Linked DNA regions of Homo sapiens: all the other regions are linked to region 1. Evidence: promoter capture Hi-C in 16 types of primary human blood cells and fetal thymus (Javierre and others, 2016). All regions are on one chromosome and are shown on one strand. The core of a region is centred on a gene start or on the middle of the fragment in contact, and the rest is flanking DNA. Distances in the headings are between cores, read along the strand shown.

Region 1 (2,700 bases), core at 187-2,686:
GCCAGCCAGGTACAGGAGGCCGGACTGCAACCGGTTGCTTCCCTCCCGTCGCGCCTGGCCGTCCCACGCTGCGCCGTCGCTGCTGCCTCCTGGCGCCCCTGGGATTTTATACGCACCTCTGAAACACGCTCCGCTCCGGCCCCCGGTTCTTCTCCTTGCCTAGGGGTTGTTTCCCAATAGATACTGACTCCTTTAGAAGATCCAAAAACCAAACCAAAACACCCCCTACCCGCCCCAAACACCTGCTCTGGGGCGCGGGGGCTGCCAAACAGAGACTAGACGAAGGGAGTCAGATTTAGCGAAGCTCTTCGAGCTCCCAAAGATTCGAACACTAACTCGCGCCCGTGGGCCGATGGAGGTTCTCCCTACTCCACTCCTTGGTCCCCTTAACTGGCTTCCGCCTCCTGGTCAATCACTGAGCAACCAGAATGGTATCCTCGACCAGGGCCACAGGCAGTGCTCGGCGGAGTGGCTCCAGGAGTTACCCGCTCCCTGCCGGGCTTCGTATCCAAACCCTCCCCTTCACCCCTCCTCCCCAAACTGGGCGCCAGGATGCTCCGGCCGGAATATACGCAGGCTTTGGGCGTTTGCCCAAGGGTTTTCTTCCCTCCTAAACTAGCCGCTGTTTTCCCGGCTTAACCGTAGAAGAATTAGATATTCCTCACTGGAAAGGGAAACTAAGTGCTGCTGACTCCAATTTTAGGTAGGCGGCAACCGCCTTCCGCCTGGCGCAAACCTCACCAAGTAAACAACTACTAGCCGATCGAAATACGCCCGGCTTATAACTGGTGCAACTCCCGGCCACCCAACTGAGGGACGTTCGCTTTCAGTCCCGACCTCTGGAACCCACAAAGGGCCACCTCTTTCCCCAGTGACCCCAAGATCATGGCCACTCCCCTACCCGACAGTTCTAGAAGCAAGAGCCAGACTCAAGGGTGCAAAGCAAGGGTATACGCTTCTTTGAAGCTTGACTGAGTTCTTTCTGCGCTTTCCTGAAGTTCCCGCCCTCTTGGAGCCTACCTGCCCCTCCCTCCAAACCACTCTTTTAGATTAACAACCCCATCTCTACTCCCACCGCATTCGACCCTGCCCGGACTCACTGCTTACCTGAACGGACTCTCCAGTGAGACGAGGCTCCCACACTGGCGAAGGCCAAGAAGGGGAGGTGGGGGGAGGGTTGTGCCACACCGGCCAGCTGAGAGCGCGTGTTGGGTTGAAGAGGAGGGTGTCTCCGAGAGGGACGCTCCCTCGGACCCGCCCTCACCCCAGCTGCGAGGGCGCCCCCAAGGAGCAGCGCGCGCTGCCTGGCCGGGCTTGGGCTGCTGAGTGAATGGAGCGGCCGAGCCTCCTGGCTCCTCCTCTTCCCCGCGCCGCCGGCCCCTCTTATTTGAGCTTTGGGAAGCTGAGGGCAGCCAGGCAGCTGGGGTAAGGAGTTCAAGGCAGCGCCCACACCCGGGGGCTCTCCGCAACCCGACCGCCTGTCCGCTCCCCCACTTCCCGCCCTCCCTCCCACCTACTCATTCACCCACCCACCCACCCAGAGCCGGGACGGCAGCCCAGGCGCCCGGGCCCCGCCGTCTCCTCGCCGCGATCCTGGACTTCCTCTTGCTGCAGGACCCGGCTTCCACGTGTGTCCCGGAGCCGGCGTCTCAGCACACGCTCCGCTCCGGGCCTGGGTGCCTACAGCAGCCAGAGCAGCAGGGAGTCCGGGACCCGGGCGGCATCTGGGCCAAGTTAGGCGCCGCCGAGGCCAGCGCTGAACGTCTCCAGGGCCGGAGGAGCCGCGGGGCGTCCGGGTCTGAGCCGCAGCAAATGGGCTCCGACGTGCGGGACCTGAACGCGCTGCTGCCCGCCGTCCCCTCCCTGGGTGGCGGCGGCGGCTGTGCCCTGCCTGTGAGCGGCGCGGCGCAGTGGGCGCCGGTGCTGGACTTTGCGCCCCCGGGCGCTTCGGCTTACGGGTCGTTGGGCGGCCCCGCGCCGCCACCGGCTCCGCCGCCACCCCCGCCGCCGCCGCCTCACTCCTTCATCAAACAGGAGCCGAGCTGGGGCGGCGCGGAGCCGCACGAGGAGCAGTGCCTGAGCGCCTTCACTGTCCACTTTTCCGGCCAGTTCACTGGCACAGCCGGAGCCTGTCGCTACGGGCCCTTCGGTCCTCCTCCGCCCAGCCAGGCGTCATCCGGCCAGGCCAGGATGTTTCCTAACGCGCCCTACCTGCCCAGCTGCCTCGAGAGCCAGCCCGCTATTCGCAATCAGGGTAAGTAGGCCGGGGAGCGCCCCCTACGCGCGGGGCAGTGGCGCCAGGGACTCTCCGCTCTAGGACACCCCCCTCTCCTACCCCTTTTGACCGCAGCTCTTACCCAGCTGCTTCCCAAGGGCCGTGAGGATAGCGGAAGCGGCGGCTGGGGAGGAGGCCGGAGAGTGGGAGTGCACGCAGGCACTGGCCCCCGACATCCTCCAAAGCCAGGCAGAGCTAGGAGCCTGACTGTTCGCAAGAGCCGGGAGGGCGTCTGGGGCCCCTTAGAGTCCGAGAGATTCCGGGACTGCTAGTCCCCACGGGAGTGGAACCAGGAGACCGGCGCAGTGTCTGGCTCTGCCTTGGGGAGAGTTTTGTTAATTAAGGAAACGCCAAATTGTCACCAAGCGTAGCGCTTTTCAGACGTCTGGACTCTGGATTCGGAGTGGGACCAGCGCGGGGGTGAG
Region 2 (2,700 bases), core at 115-2,614, 160 kb before region 1:
AGCATCACTAAAAAGAAATATTGCTTTAGGAACTTGAAAGCATTACTGCTATTCATTCATTTAAAATATTTTTAAGAGGCAGGTACTGTGCTGATGACATTATAACGGTGACTAAGAGAGACAAAGTCCCTGTCTATGGGAAAAGTCATAAAACCTTCCTTTTAGTAGGAAAGATGGACAACTAAGGAAAAGTAACTAATAAGTGCTATGAAGGAAATAAATGGTGATTTAATCAAAGCAACAAGGGCAGAAAACGGAAAGGCCGCTTTATGTACAGTGGGAAAGCAGTCTCCCTCAGAAGAGATGGCAAGTAAGCTGAGACCAAAATGATGTAAAATATCCTTTTCTTGGCCATGAAAAGAGCTGGGTTCATGAAAGGTGGGGTAAGATGACTTTCCAAGCAGAGGGAAAACCAAGTATAAAGGCCCTAGGCGCAAAAAAAGTTTTGTGTCCCAGAAACTGTTAGGACAGTATGGCTGAAGTTGAGACAATACCAAATATTTAAATAACTCTACTTAAGATACCCTTCCAATTAAATTATTCTTACAGTTATATACATCAGTTTCACTGGAGTAAATAGGGCAAAATAAATAAATGCAGTCATTCAAACTGGACTTTTAGAAAATGTTTATCTTTACTCCTCATGACTTCTTTAAACTGTGGAATCTTCAGCTTATAGAAAGCTTTGCTAACTAGGAGGAAGAGGTTTTTCTTTTCCTTTTTTCATTTTCTAAAAATACTTACTCCCCACATCTGAGTTTAGCCTGGGCAAAATCAGCAGGAACTGTATCATTTATTTTAAAATGGTAAATGCTATCTAAAACTTCTTTCAAAACTAAGGTTTACTAAGATTCAGAAATACCACTGTAGGCATGGCTAAGTGGTAACCCGCATCTTAAATGTAGTGATATAAATGCCTAGGCACAGTGGCGCATGCCAATAGTCCCACCTACTAAGGAGGCTTGCTTGAGCCCAGGAATTCAAGGCTGTAATGCACTACAATTGCACCTGTGAACAGCCAAATACCCACTGTACTCCAGTGTGGGCAACATGGTCAGACCCTGTCTCTAAAAATAAAAAATTAATACTGAACTCAACCTGGAAGAGGCCATGATCCAAAGGAGCCAGAGCAGCTAAAAAAAACTGTTTATTGGTGGTCTGAGCTTTGAAACTAGAGATGGTAGTTTTAGAGAACATTTTAAGAAATGGAGCACACTCACAGGTTGTGTGGTAATCAGAGACCCCCAAACAAAATGTTCCACAAACTCTGGTTTTGTGACTTACTCTTGTGTTGAAGAGGTGGATGCAGCAATGTGTGCTCAACCACACAAGGCTGAGGAGTGCAATGGAACCAAAGACAGCTGTTTCTAGAGAGAGTTCTGTAAAGCCCAGTGCCCATCCAACAGTGAAGAAAATTTTTGTTGGTGATGTTAAAGAAGATACAGAAGAACATAATTTGAGAGACTACTTTGAAAAGTATCGCAAGATTGAAACCACAGAAGTTACAGGAGGACTGGCAGAGTGGAAAAAAGAGAGGATTTGCTTTTGTAACTTTTGATGATCATGATAAAATTGTGGTTCAGAAATAACACTCTATTAACAGGCGTTAGTGAAGTGAAAAGGGCCCTTTTTAAACAACAGATGCAGTTGTGGAGTGGATCTAGCAACTTTATGGGTTGTGGAGGAAACTTTGGAGATGGTAGTTTTGGCCATGGGTAGAAACTCTGGTGGAAGAGGAGGATATGGTGCTGGGGTGGTGGCAGCAGAAGTAGTTATGGAGGAGGGGTTGCTGGATATAATGGATTTGAAGGTGATGGTGGCAACTACCGCAGTTGTCCTGGTTTTGATAGTAGAGGCGGGTATGGTGGTGGTAGATATGGTGGCAGCAGTGGAGGATATGATGGTTACAATGAAGAAGGTAATTTGGGGAGTGGTAATTACGGTGGTGGTGGGAACTATAATGATTTTGGATATTACAGTGGACAATGACAACCAAATTATGGACCCATGCATGAAAGGGGGCAGTTTTGGTGGATAAAGCTTGGGCAGTCTCTATGGTGGTAAATATGGTAGCACAAGGTTCTAAAAACAGCAGAAAAGGGCTACAGTTTTTGGCAGGAGTGCAAGCAAGGAGAAGTCAGAAAAGCTGCAAGTTACTTTGAGGCAATCATCCAAATGCATTAGAGGAACTGTAAAAATCTGCCACAGAGGAATGATGATCCACAGTCAGAAAAGTTACTGCAGCTTAAACAGGAAAGCCTTCTTGTTCAGGACTGTCATAGCTACAGGTTGCAAAAAGTGCACTATTGATTAATGCAGTGTAGTGTCAATTAGATGTACATTCCTGAGGTCTTTTATCTGTTGTACCTTTGCCTTTTTCTTTTCATTACATCAGGCATGTTACCCTGTAAATTATGGTAGTGTAGTGGTACCAGGAATAAAAAACTAAGGAATTTTTAACTTTGCAATAAAAATTAAAATTAAAAAGTATAATGACTTAACTATAAAAATTCAAAGAAAAACTTTTAAAAAACCACATCTTACTCATTAGTTATCTTGTGCCACACTGTAAGCACAGGTGCAAGTCATTTTCCAGTTTTAGCAACTACAGTATACTTCAACCTTCTCAGCTAAAGAAATCTTTTTAATCCACTTGAAGCACACAGCATGGTGTCTGACATGTAAGGGCTTAGTTACCAG
Region 3 (2,700 bases), core at 121-2,620, 180 kb before region 1:
AGCTGGGAGTACAGACATGTCACTGCACCCAGCTAAGTTTTAAAATTTTTTGTAGAGACAGGTCTCACTTTGTTGCCGAGGCTGGTGTTGAACTTCTGGGCTCAAGTGATCCTCCTGCCTCAGCTTCCCAAATTGCTGGGAGCCACCACACCCGGCCTGAAAATTTTTCACAGTATTTAAAAATAAAAACATACTAGATTATCATGAATTGGTGCTGTATAAATATAAATTGAAAATAAAAAGCAGTATTTAAGAAGTATGATCATGAGGAAAATGGTTTTTTAATTGTTTTTATTTTTGGGACAGCATGTTTTCTTTTAATAGCAATCTCATAGTCAAAAGTTGCTAAGGTTGTTAAAGGCATTCTTATATTTTAAGGGAACTTTGTGGGTTTAACATTGTGCACTTAGACACCTTAAAAAGATGCAGATTCCAAGGATAGCTTTTATATGGCCCTCAGATTTAACAGGCTTCTTTTAAAAAGGAAATTGAGAAAAATTTAAAGAGACTATTTGGTGATTAAAAACAAAAACATATCTTGTTTACTACTACCAATGGGAAATAATGTAGGCGAAAATCAAATAACCAAAACACTGTATAACCTCATTTCCCAAACTGCAATTTTTCAAGGTCACAAAATATATTACTTAAGATTCCATTAACTTTTAATTAGGTATTGCTTTAGGTGCTGGTCTAAAAATCTACCATTTTTTTTGAAGTCCTTTCTTGTAATTAAATTTCAGTGATATATAAGATACAAAGGGTGATATCTAAAATTCTGTAGAAATTCAACTTGTAAAATACTCTTAAATATGCCATCAGTATCTTTTAACCTTCATAATTTACATACTTCTCTAACTCATTTCTATCAATTTATTAAAGCCCAATGTGACCCCTTCTAAACAGCCCTTTGTTGGACTTCTCACTGTGGCCAATTTCTTTAAATAGTTTATAAATCTGGTATGTAGTTGGTTCTGACTTTTTCCATTAATCTGAGTTGGTAAAATATTCACTATACAAATGCTTACATGTGTGGGAAATACAGTAACCAGGGGAATAATGATAACATTTTATGAGTTATTTTGTTTTAGAAGGTATTTATACCATTTCTTTCACTGCTTTTAATGTGGAATTACAGTAATCAGGTTTTAGAAAGTAGCAATAATAAAATCTTGTTTGTTTTCAGAAATGAAATGCCTAATTTAAGAGCAAAGTCTAGGACAACTGCAAAATATTCAACATTAAAATAGAAATTTGTTGCTTTTTAAATACAAAAGCATAGGATCAGAAACAAGTTCAGTCACTAAAATGAGTACCTAGAGAAAAATTCAGTTGTTGCCATTTCCTCTTTATCAATCAGATACTACCAGCATTAACAGAGTTGCTGACACTTTGAATAACTGGAGTATCCATCCAGATCCCAAGGGAGAACCCAGTGAAGAGAAGAATGCAATGGCAAAGACTTTTTATGATTCCTCTTTTCCCACAGAACATGTAAGTCAATTAAAAATATTGCCGAGCAGACCTTAGTGAGCTAATTCTACAGATATGTGTAGAACTGTACGCATCTGGATGCTTTAAGACCTAACTGATCTCCAAAATAATATCAAGAGGGCAACATGGCACCATTTTTCACAATTAAGGTTGATAGAAAACAGCAGGAAAAAGTCACAGTGTATAAATCAAATAGATACAATCCAGCCTGTTTGGGGAAGGAGAGTGTGAGGCATCGGATATGTACTTCTATTTCTTACTCATCTAAATTTGGAAATAGTGGTATTTGAGCATTTAAAATTTTATGTTAATAAAAGGTTATGTCTAAAAGTAAGCTAATCAAGTCCAATTGTTTTTAATAATCCTTAAGTAAATTCACATTATTTTTGGAAACTGAGATGGAAAGAATTTAAAACTATTTCAATTAGAACACGTGTGAAAGGATCAAGTATCCATGTGATACTGTATGGATATATGTATTAAAGTATTTGTAGAAATTATATGGCTTCCAGGAGTCTATTTGTCATATAGAAAGCAACTAACTATAGCAGGAAGGTTATCTGGTTAAATGTGTAAGTTTTATATCATAGTGTATAGAACTTTAAGCAAGAAAAAGGTTGTAGTGTTCAAACTATTAAACAACTTTCTCTTTAGCATATACAAAATGAATATTATAGTACTAACACATCCTTAACAAATAACAGCTTTTAACAATGTATTTTATTTTCCTTTCTAAATAGGAGAAACCTCAAGTGAGATAGTATAACTCTTCTGGGAGAGTTGAGACAAAAATCAGGAACTATCCTTGATATGGTTTGGCTTTGTCCCCACCCAAATCACATTTTGAATTGTCACTCCCACAGTTCCCATGTGTCATGGGAGGGACCCAGTGGGAGGTAATTGAATCATGGGGGCGGGTCTTTCCTGTGCTATTCTCATGACAGTGAATAAATCCCACAAGATCTGATGGTTTTAAAAATGGGAGTTTCCCTGCACAAGCTCTCTTCTCTCTTGCTGCCGCCATGTAAGAACTGCCTTTTGCCGGCCGGGTGCAGTGGCTCATGCCTGTAATCCCAGCACTTTGGGAGGCTGAGGTGGGCGGATCATGAGGTCAGGAGATCGAGACCATCCTGGCTGACATGGTGAAACCCTGTCTCTACTAAAAATACAAAAAAAAAAAAAAAATTAGCTGGGCTTGGTGACAGG

Evidence for each region. Contacts are between HindIII fragments. The CHiCAGO score rates a contact against its expected background, and 5 or more counts as called.
Region 2: a fragment that was not itself captured here is called in contact with the fragment with the promoter of WT1-AS in region 1 in 3 of 17 cell types (megakaryocytes, erythroblasts and M1 macrophages); the score reaches 9.1 in megakaryocytes.
Region 3: a contact is called between a fragment that was not itself captured here and the fragment with the promoter of WT1-AS in region 1, in 1 of 17 cell types (M2 macrophages). The highest score is 5.0, in M2 macrophages.

What each region holds. Positions count from the first base shown.
Region 1 is chr11:32,434,254-32,436,953 of GRCh38, reverse strand. It overlaps WT1-AS (WT1 antisense RNA), which reads right to left and starts at 1,436. Exons shown (of 5, transcript NR_120548.1): 1 at 1,108-1,436. It overlaps WT1 (WT1 transcription factor), which reads left to right and starts at 1,415. Exons shown (of 10, transcript NM_024426.6): 1 at 1,415-2,254. The coding sequence starts at 1,594. RefSeq lists promoters at 1-316, 1,220-1,322, 964-1,614, 416-1,614, cis regulatory regions at 775-794, 887-1,013, 998-1,035 and enhancers at 1,342-1,374, 2,482-2,700. The HindIII fragment of the contact is 4,267 bases long and covers 969-2,700 here.
Region 2 is chr11:32,591,173-32,593,872 of GRCh38, reverse strand. It overlaps EIF3M (eukaryotic translation initiation factor 3 subunit M), which reads right to left. Exons shown (of 11, transcript NM_006360.6): 6 at 1-7. It also overlaps the pseudogene HNRNPA3P9. Among named protein-coding and RNA genes, the nearest start is that of EIF3M, 8.7 kb to the right of the region's middle. The HindIII fragment of the contact is 1,357 bases long and covers 686-2,042 here.
Region 3 is chr11:32,609,926-32,612,625 of GRCh38, reverse strand. It overlaps CCDC73 (coiled-coil domain containing 73), which reads left to right. Exons shown (of 18, transcript NM_001008391.4): 17 at 1,361-1,494. Among named protein-coding and RNA genes, the nearest start is that of EIF3M, 27 kb to the right of the region's middle. The HindIII fragment of the contact is 7,325 bases long and covers 1-2,700 here.